Regions from separate parts of the Homo sapiens genome. Here region 2 is linked to region 1. The links are contacts of gene promoters, found by promoter capture Hi-C in human tissues and cell types (Jung and others, 2019). All regions are on one chromosome and are shown on one strand. The core of a region is centred on a gene start or on the middle of the fragment in contact, and the rest is flanking DNA. Distances in the headings are between cores, read along the strand shown.

What was found. Contacts are between HindIII fragments. The study calls those that stand out against the background at their distance.
Region 2: a contact is called between a fragment that was not itself captured here and the fragment with the promoter of OR5H1 in region 1, in 2 of the 25 tissues and cell types used here (adrenal gland and hippocampus).

What each region holds. Positions count from the first base shown.
Region 1 is chr3:98,128,028-98,133,524 of GRCh38, forward strand. It overlaps OR5H1 (olfactory receptor family 5 subfamily H member 1), which reads left to right and starts at 2,694. Exons shown (of 2, transcript NM_001005338.2): 1 at 2,694-2,823; 2 at 4,653-5,497. The coding sequence starts at 4,671. The HindIII fragment of the contact is 17,473 bases long and covers 1-5,497 here.
Region 2 is chr3:98,092,838-98,097,726 of GRCh38, forward strand. No RefSeq gene overlaps it. Among named protein-coding and RNA genes, the nearest start is that of OR5AC2, 8.1 kb to the left of the region's middle. The HindIII fragment of the contact is 3,265 bases long and covers 720-3,984 here.

The DNA of each region.
Region 1 (5,497 bases), core at 1,444-3,943:
ATCATCTGTATTTCTACCTACATTCTGTTCATGACCACTCTAGTAATCTCTAAGAAGAACGAGGCTTTCCCTAACGCTCTTCTCTTCTGAATCCTAACCAGACTTGTCCTTAATGCTTCATTCCTGAAAAATACAGGCTTTTTCCATCATTCACTTCAAAACTGCTGTAGCCTCCACTCATTACCTCTTTCCAAGACACTTCCACACTTTAGGTATTTGTTATAGGGACACTCCACTTCTTGGTACCTATTTCTGTCTTGACCTATTTGTGCTGCTATAACAGAATGCCAGAGACTAAATATTTATAAATGATGAAAATTTATTTTATTATAGCTCTAGGAGCTGGTATTTTCAAGATCCAGATGCTGACAGGTTTGGATGTCTCATAGGGGTCCCGTCCCTGCTTCTAAGATGGTGCCTTGATGTCTCGTAGGGGTCCCATCCCTACTTCTAAGATGGTGCCTTGAAAGCTCTTCTGGAGGAGAGGAACACTGGGTTCTCATGTGGTGAAAGACAGAAGAGCAAGGAAACTGAAGGCTGTGTGAAACCTTTTTTATAAGGGCTTTAGCCCATCAACAAGGAAAGAAGCCCTTATGACCTAAGCACCTACTAAAAGCCCCACCTCTTAATACTGTCACACGGGCCATTGTTTCAACACCTGAATTTTGGAGGGGAAACATTCAAACCATAGCAGATATCTACATAATTTATACCCAGTTAGAGACATCTCTCCAAGCACCTTCTCTCAAATATCCTTTTCACCAGTATTCTAATTATGCTCCTTCCAAGTCCCTGATCATCCAGCCTAACCATTAGTCATAGCCTATAAATTGATACATAATCACACATTTATTTATTTCTCCTTTTAAGCAAATTGGACAACCAAGTACATCAGTTAAAATTTTTCTAACTGGGAGGATTTCCCTTCACCATGGTCCTTCCAAAATGTCCCAGAAAGGAGCAGTAGTGCTGCAGCCACCCGCCTGAATATGGTGCACAACCATTTGTATCCAGGTCTGAGTCTTCTCTTCCACTGTCAATCGATTATAAGAAACTCCCTATGAAGCTATTGCTGAAGGCTTGCAGAGATAAGGCAGTGTAGCAGAAGTAGGGACATTAATAATTTACCTTTGCGTTAGTCCGTTAGTCTGTTCTTGCATTACTATAAAGAAATATCAGAGACTGGGTAATTTATAATGAAAAGAGGTTTAATGGACTCACAGTTGCACAGTCTGTACAGGAAGCATGGTTGAGGGGGCCTCAGGAAACTTACAATCATGGGGGAAGCTGAAGGGGAAGCATGTATGTTGTACATGTCCAGAGAAGGAGGAAGAGAGAGAAGGGAGGAGGTGTTACACACTTTTAAACAACCAGATCTTGTGAGAACTCACTATCATGAGAACCGAAAGGGGAAGTCCACCCCTATGATCCAATCACCACTCACCTGGACCCTCTCCAACATTGGGGATTGGAATTCAACATGAAATTTGGGTAGAGCAGCAAATCCAAACCATATCACCATCCATAATCCAAGTGCAGGCAATTTTATTTCTTTAATAAATACTTTTGCTGTCAAGAAAGGTACATGTCACTATTTAAATATGAAATATAAATATTACAAGTAGGTAAATTAGGTTTTCTTTTTTGAATGGATGCTCCTTAACATGTTATTCTGTTAATGCTCTAAAGAAAATTCTGAACATGCTATCACCATTTTCAAAATCGTTCAATAATAGTTCATTGGTTTTCCTGTAAGTTGGGGTAAAGAACATATCTTTGAACTACCCGACAAGGTCCCACCCATGCTGGCCTCCCTGAACACACTTGGTCCTTCCTGATTCTCTCTTTGCATACCAGCCACATTTATTATTTGTTGTTTCTTCAATGATCAAGGCTTTCTGATAATCTAGGTCTTCCCACCATGAAGACCTGTTGGATGCAAATGTCCACAGGCACTGCTTTGTTAAAAATAAAGGCTCTTGAGAGACCCACCCCAGAATTACTGAAACAGAATCTGCGTTTTGACAACATCACTAGGAAAATCATAGGCATTATAGTTTGAGAAGCACAGACCTAGGACACCTCCCACTGCAAGCCACTCCCTGGCTTTGTTTTACATTTGCTTTTTGTCTTCTTCCTAGTAAAATTTCCCATTGGATTTTAGCTTATAATGGGGGATCTAAATATATGTCTAAAATTTGCATGTCTGAAATTTGCATGGGAAGGACAATTGTATTTGAGGTTGCTCCCAAAGAGGATCTAGAACTTTGGCTTTATTAAAATTATGTTTTGGTTACTTCAAATAAGACTATACTAATTAAAGCACTAACAGTAAATTTTACATATAAACTAAAGTTTGAACAAATATGCCAGAAGTGTCATCCATGGTGGTAAATAGTAACATAAAGTGTTATTTCAATTGTTAAAACTAGAAGTGTCTACCATGAAATGATGTTTGTGATTCCAGAAGTTTGTAATGCCCTTGGGGACAACCTGAACTTACACTTGTGCAAATGCACAATGCCCATTAGAACAGCTTCAATTTGTCCTACAGGGAGTCCTCTGACACTGTTATGAGAATTTCAGTTTTTCATTCCTTTCTCTTCTGGCAAAAGACCCTAGTGGCACAACTGGGTCATTTATGTGCTCAAAGCATATTTAATAAACAACATTTTTCTATGCTTGGAAAAAGAAACCTTCAAAAAGAATGAATATGCCATGAATGGCTACCTGTATTATTGACATTGCTGTGCTACTGTATGTATTTTTGTTTAGAAAGCACAACGTGTTTAAAGGATATCCACAATTTCCTTCAATATATGGGTAAGGAAGAAATAACTTCTCTAATTTTTATTATAATTTATAGAAATGTTGATAATGCCATTTAATTCATTAAAATTTTAGATTGGGTAACAAGTTGTCATAATAGAAAGTCAGAAACTGGATGACTCTGACTGGACTATTTTTATATTTTAGTTTTATGACTCTAATATGGATAAAGAGTTATAAGACTGAATTTTTCCTTTAATATTTTGCTATTTTGTTAATCTTATTATGATGAGTTTATATAAATTAGGGCATTAAACAACTAAAACTTGGTTTAAAGATTCAGATAATAATGATTCTTAGAATTATTTCTTGGAATTATTCTGATATAAATACCCATTCCTCTGAATCAACCACATTCTCCAATTAAAACTTTTAAGGTGAGTCACTTACATATTAACTCCTGTATCCTTACACTCATGTTTGACAATAATTTGAGAGCTCACACTGTAAATTTTGTTGATGTGAATAAAGGTTGCATTAAGTAAAGTCCTGGTATTTTGGCTTTGGCTGCCTTGAAACCAATATCTTTTGTCCCTCTCTCCATATTCCAAATGTAGGATCAGTGTATTTAATTGGCCATCCTAGATCATGTCCCTTCACTTTAGATGTAAGAAAAATGGGAAAATGAGTTTCTAGTTCTTTTGGCAGTATGTTACCTCTGACAGCCACTATGATTTCGATGGCAAAAAAGGAGATCACACCTTGGCCATTTACAGGACATATGTCCACCTTGTTACCTCCTTAATATAACTTGCTCAAGTTGATTTTCTTGCCATTCCTTTTGGTTCTGTTTTACACTCCAAGGATGCATCATCTTTAACTATGCCTTTGACTGCCTTTGACTACCACAATGAATCCAAGCAATCATTTCTATTGAGCTCTAATAGGCTCATATTACTGATTGGAACACATCTAGTTGTCCAGATGATGCTCACTCCAAAAACTTGTCAGCACACCTGAGTTCTCAATGTTTAATATCCATCTTCCCAGTCACCAAGGGACTCCTCTCTCCTTCACTGACCACTTACTGCCTACAAAATATGTCACAGAATACTAGAGACTCTACATTCTGAATTCTTTAGAATCTATTTCTTTGTCTTACTGTCTCTTTCAATGTCATATCACACCAAGACCATACATTTAACATGCATTTGAATCCCCCGGAGGGTATTTTCAAAATGCAGATCCCCAGACCTAATTCCTTAAATAACTTCTACATTAAAACCTCATAACATATTTTTCATAAAAACTCACTCAGATAATTTTTATGTGTAATGTGATTTGGGATTGCCTGGGCCTTACTAACAAGTTTCTAATTAATATCCCTGAGTACAGTTTCTTCTTCTTGCAGCATATTTTCTACACTATCAAAAACTAAATTAAAAAAAATTAGGATGTAATTTCCCATCTTAAAATTTTTGGCACATGCTTATTGTATGAAGAATAAAGTTTAAGATACTTCACATGGCATTTATTTTATTTATTTTTAATTCAGACCGTACAAAAATCTTTCCTGTTGACATTGTATCATATGCCAGTCAAACAATTTTTCTACTGCACTCAATAGTGTCCATATAAATGTTGTGCATACAGAGAATGCCTCTTGTTTTACCTAAATCTGCTAATTACTGCACAGTTTCAAACCAAAATATATCATTTTTTCATGTCTTTATTGCAACAAATAGAGATTCATCAGCTATAGGACTGATCAAAAAATTGAGAGGGTTCTGATCATTTTAGGTTTTCCTTCAGCACCTCTTCCCCAATTTCAACTGATAATGCCATTGCAAATGTTCCCTTTCATTTGTTGCATTTTATTTTAGAGGGCATGCTGTGAGGACATGGAAGAGGAAAATGCAACATTGCTGACAGAGTTTGTTCTCACAGGATTTTTATATCAACCACAGTGGAAAATACCCCTGTTCCTGGCATTCTTGGTAATATATCTCATCACCATCATGGGGAATCTTGGTCTGATTGCTGTCATCTGGAAAGACCCTCACCTTCATATCCCAATGTACTTACTCCTTGGGAATTTAGCTTTTGTGGATGCTTGGATATCATCCACAGTGACCCCAAAGATGCTGAATAACTTCTTAGCTAAGAGTAAGATGATATCTCTCTCTGAATGCAAGATACAGTTTTTTTCGTTTGCAATCAGTGTAACCACGGAATGTTTTCTCTTGGCAACGATGGCATATGATCGCTATGTAGCCATATGCAAACCTTTACTTTATCCAGCCATTATGACCAATGGACTGTGCATCCGGCTATTAATCTTGTCATATGTAGGTGGTATTCTTCATGCTTTAATCCATGAAGGATTTTTATTCAGACTAACCTTCTGTAACTCCAACATAGTACATCACATTTACTGTGACACTATCCCATTGTCTAAGATTTCTTGTACTGATTCTTCTATTAATTTTCTAATGGTTTTTATTTTCTCAGGTTCAATTCAGGTATTCAGCATTGTGACTATTCTTGTATCTTATACATTTGTTCTCTTCGCAATCTTAAAAAAGAAATCTGATAAAGGTGTAAGGAAAGCCTTTTCCACCTGTGGAGCCCATCTCTTCTCTGTCTCTTTATACTATGGACCCCTTCTCTTCATTTATGTGGGCCCTGCATCTCCGCAAGCAGATGATCAAGATATGGTGGAGCCTCT
Region 2 (4,889 bases), core at 1,102-3,601, 36 kb before region 1:
GATTTTCTAGTTTATTTGCATAGAGGTGTTTATAGTATTCTCTGATGGTAGTTTGTATTTCTGTGGGATCAGTGGTGATATCCCCTTTATCACTTTTTTATTGTGTCTATTTGATTCTTCTCTCTTTTCTTCTTTATTACTCTGGCTAGTGGTCTATCTATTTTGTTGATAGTTTCAAAAAACCAGCTCCTGGATTCATTGATTTTTTGAAGAGTTTTCTGTGTCTCTATCTCCTTTAGTTCTGCTCTGATCTTAGTTATTTCTTGCCTTCTGCTAGCTTTTGCATTTGTTTGCTCTTGCTTCTCTAGTTCTTTTAGTTGTGATGTTATGGTGTCGATTTTGTTTTTTTTTACATATTTATTTTTTTGAGACAGAGTCTTGCTCTGTCGCCCAGGCTGGAGCACAGTGGCATGATATCAGTTCACTGCAACCTCTCCCTCCCAGGTTCAAGTGATTCTCCTGCCTCAGACTCCTGAGTAGCTGGGACTACAGGCATGCACCACTATGCCTAGCTAATTTTTGTATTTTTATTAGAGACAGGGTTTCACCATGTTGGTTGGCCAGGATGGTCTTGATCTCTTGAACTCGTGATCCACCCACCTTGGCCTTCCAAAGGGCTGGGATTACAGGTGTGAGCTGCTGCGCCTGGCCTAGGGTGTCAATTTTAGATCTTTCCTGCTTTCTCTTGTGGGCATTTAGTGCTATAAATTTCCCTCTACACACTGCTTTAAATGTGTCCCAGAGATTGTGGTACATTGTCTCTTTGTTCTCATTGGTTTCAAAGAATATCTTTATTTCTGCCTTCATTTTGTTATTTACCCAGTAGTCATTCAGGAGCAGGTTGTTCAGTTTTGATGTAGTTATGTGGTTTTGAGGGAGTTTATTCATCCTGAGTTCTAGTTTGATTGCACTGTGGTCTGAGAGACAGTTTGTTGTGATTTCTGTTCTTTTACATTTTCTGAGGAGTGTTTTACTTCCAATTATGTGGTCAATTTTAGACTAAGTGTAATGTGGTGCTGAGAAGAATGTATATTCTGTTGACTTGGGGTGGAGGGTTCTGTAGATGTCTACTAGGTCCACTTGGACCAGAGCTGAGTTGAAGTCCTGGCTATCCTTGTTAACCTTCTGTCTCATTGATCTGTCTAATATTGACAGTGGGGTGTTAAACTCTCCTATTATTATTGGGTGGCAGTCTAAGTCTCTTTGTAGGTCTCTAAGGACTTGCTTTATGAATTGAGTGCTCCTGTATTGGACGCATATATATTTAGGATAGTTAGCTTTTCCTGTTGAATTGATCCGTTTACCATTATGTGTGGCCTTCCTTGTCTCTTTTGATCTTTGTCAGTTTAAAGTCCGTTTTATCAGAGAGTAAGATTGCAACCCTTGTTTTTTTTTTTTTTTTTTTTTGCTTTCCATTTGCTTGGTAGATCTTCCTCCATCCCTTTATTTTCATCCTATGTGTATCCTTGCACGTGAGAGAGGTCTCCTGAATACAGTACACCAATGGGTCTTGACTCTTTTTCTAATCTGCCAGTCTGTGTCTTTTAATTGGAGCATTTAGCCCATTTACATTTAAGGTTAATATTTTTATGTGTGAATTTGATCCTGTTATTAGGATGTTAGCTGGTTATTTTGCCCATTAATTGATCCAGTTTCCTCATAGTGTCAGTGATCTTTACCATTTGGCATGTTTTTGCAGTGGCTGGTACTAGTTGTTCCTTTCCATGTTTAGTGCTTCCTTCAGGAACTCTTGTAAGGCAGGCCTGGTGGTGACAAAATCTCTCAGCATTTGCTCATCTGTAAAGATTTTATTTCTCCTTCACTTATGAAGCTTAGTTTGGCTGGATATGAGATTCTGGGTTGAAAATTCTTTTCTTTAAAAATGTTGAATATTGGCCCCCACTCTCTTCTGGCTTGTAGAGTTTCTGCCAAGAGATCCGCTGTTAGTGTAATGGGCTTCCCTTTGTGGGTAACCCGACCTTTCTCTCTGGCTGCCCTTAACATTTTTTCCTTCATTTCAACCTTGGTGAATCTGACAATTATATGTCTTGGGGTTGCTCTTCTCAAGGAGTACCCTTGTGGTGTTCTCTGTATTTCCTGAATTTGAGTGTTGGCCTGCCTTGCTACGTTAGGGAAGTTCTCCTGGATAATATCCTGAAGAGTGTTTTCTAACTTGGTTGTATTCTCCCTGTCACTTTCTGGTACACCAATCAAATGTATATTTGGTCTTTTCACATAGTCCATATTTCTTGGAGGCTTTGCTCATTTCTTTTCACTCTTTTTTCTCTTATATTGCCTTCTCACTTTACTTCATTAATTTGATCTTCTATCACTGATATCCTTTCTTTCACTTGATCGAATCGGCTATTGAAGCTTGTGCACGCGTCACGAAGTTCTTGTGCTGTGGTTTTCAGCTCTATCAGGTCATTTTAGGTCTTCTCTACACTGTTTATTCTAGTTAGCCATTCGTCTAACCTTTTTTCAAGGATTTTAGCTTCCTTGCGATGGGTTAGAACATGCTTCTTTAGCTCAGAGAAGTTTGTTATTAGTGACCTTCTGAAGCCTACTTCTGTCAACTTGTCAAACACGCTCTCCATCCAGTTTTGTTCCCTTACTGGTGAGGAGCTGCGGTCCTTTGGAGGAGAAGAAGCACTCTGGTTTTTGGAATTTTCAGCTTTTCTGGTCTGATTTCTCCCCATCTTTGTGGTTTTATCTACCTTTGGTCTTGATGGTGACCTACAGATGGGGTTTTGGTGTGGATGCCCTTTTTGTTGATGTTGATGCTATTCCTTTCTGTTTGTTAGTTTTCCTCCTAACAATCAGGCCCCTCAGCTGCAGGTCTGTTGGAGTTTGCTGGAGGTCCACTCCAGACTCTATTTGCCTGGGTATCACCAGCGGAGGCTGAAGAATAGCAAATATTGCTGCCTGATCCTTCCTCTGGAAGCTTCGTCCCAGAGGGGCACCTGCCTGTTTGAGGTGTCTGTAGGCCCCTCCTGGGAGGTGTCTCCCAGTCAGGATACACAGGGGGTCAGGCTCAAGACATACTTGAGGAGGCAGTCCGTCTGTTCTCGGAGCTCAAACGCCATGTTGAGAGAACCACTATTCTCTTCAGAGCTGTCAGACAGGGTTGTGTTTGTCTGCAGAAGCTGTCTTCTGCCTTTGGTCTATGCCCTGCCTCCAGAGGTGGAATCTAGAGAGGCAGTAATCCTTGCTGAGCTGTGGCAGGCTCCACCCAGTTAAAGCTTCCCGGCCACTTTGTTTACATTGTGAGCTACTCAAGCCTCAGCAATAGCAGACCCTCCTCCTCCCATCAAGCTGCAGTGTCACAGGTTGATCTCAGACAGCTGTGCTAGTAGTGAGCAAGGCTCTGTGGGCAGGGGACCCACCAAGCCAGGCATGGGAGGGTATGTCCTGGTTTGCCGGTTGTTAAAACCATGGGAAAAGCACAGTATTTGGTCAAGAGTGTACCATCTCTCCAGGTACAGTCTGTCACGGCTTCCCTTGGCTAGGAGAGGGAAATCCCCTGACTCCTTGCACTTCCTGGATGAGGTGATGCCCCGCCCTGATTTGGCTCACCCTCCGTGGGCTGCACCCACTGTCCAACCAGTCCCAATGAGATGAACCAGGTAGCTCAGTTGGAAATGCAGAAATCACCCATCTTCTGTGTCCATCTCACTGGGAGCTGCAGACTGGAGCTCTTCCTATTCGGCCATCTTGGAAGCAACTTGAATGTATTTTCTTTAGGAATATTATTGGCATCATGGAGATTCTGATTAAATTTCCCATCTTGGTGGTTAACTTAACAATGACTATATAAGTTATAATTAATTTGCTATTACATTTTTTAAAAATTTTGAATTAGGGCCCTATTCCTATAATTTGCTGTTGATGGTCTGTTATAATCTCTTAAGTTCTTGTTATCATTTGACAAGAGATAAATTTATTTCCACTTGTACATGTATCAACCTTAATTTTTTTTTTAGTCTGAGTGGCATTACATGTTTCTAATTTCTGCAGTGATACTTTATGACTGAATTGTTAAAACTACAACTGATTACTACATTCTTATTAATCTTCTAGTGGATGTAATGTTAGCAAATACTTTCTTTTAAACTAACCATAGTATTGTTATTTAATGCAGCAAAATTAATAACAGTTGTTTGATATTATTTAATGTCAGTGTGTGTTCAATATTCCCAATTTGCCTGAAAAATTTTGTTCTTTGGTTGAACCAGGATTTAAACAAGACGTGCATATTGTATTTGTATTATGGTTTTTAACAGTTCCAATTTTAGTGATATTCACTGCTGACAGTTCGGATGTTGTCATTGCAAGCCTCCCCTTATTGAGTTCTCTACGAACCCAAAACAAAATGATTTTAATGATTATTGGTTAGATCTTTTATTTCATCAGAGGTTGCAAAATGGAAATTCCCCAAGTCTATTCTTCTGCATTCATTAGCTATAATTCTTCTACAAAGAAGAACTTTCTCTCATGAATTTGGATTTCTGAAATATGGTTCATGAAAGAGAGGCAGAATAAATTCCTGATTCTTTCCCTTCACTTATCTGTTTTCAAAACATTTAGCTAGAGCTGTAGCAACTTCCCAAGGTGACCAATGAGGTTTATTTATTTTTTTCATTTGTTTGAAGGGGGTGTTACTATAAACTCAAAAATTTTAATATATTTGATGTGATTAATCAATTGCAATAATTATACTTTTAAAGCTTAAATTATTACATATTTAATCAAAGGAATTGCTTTAAGTTAGTTCCTGTGTCTTTGGCCTTTTACACCATAGATTGGTTTTGCATGTTTTTGAACTTAGTATTATGGGAATCATGTGGTATGAAATACTTTAGATTTTGTCTAATATTTGGCTATTTCAT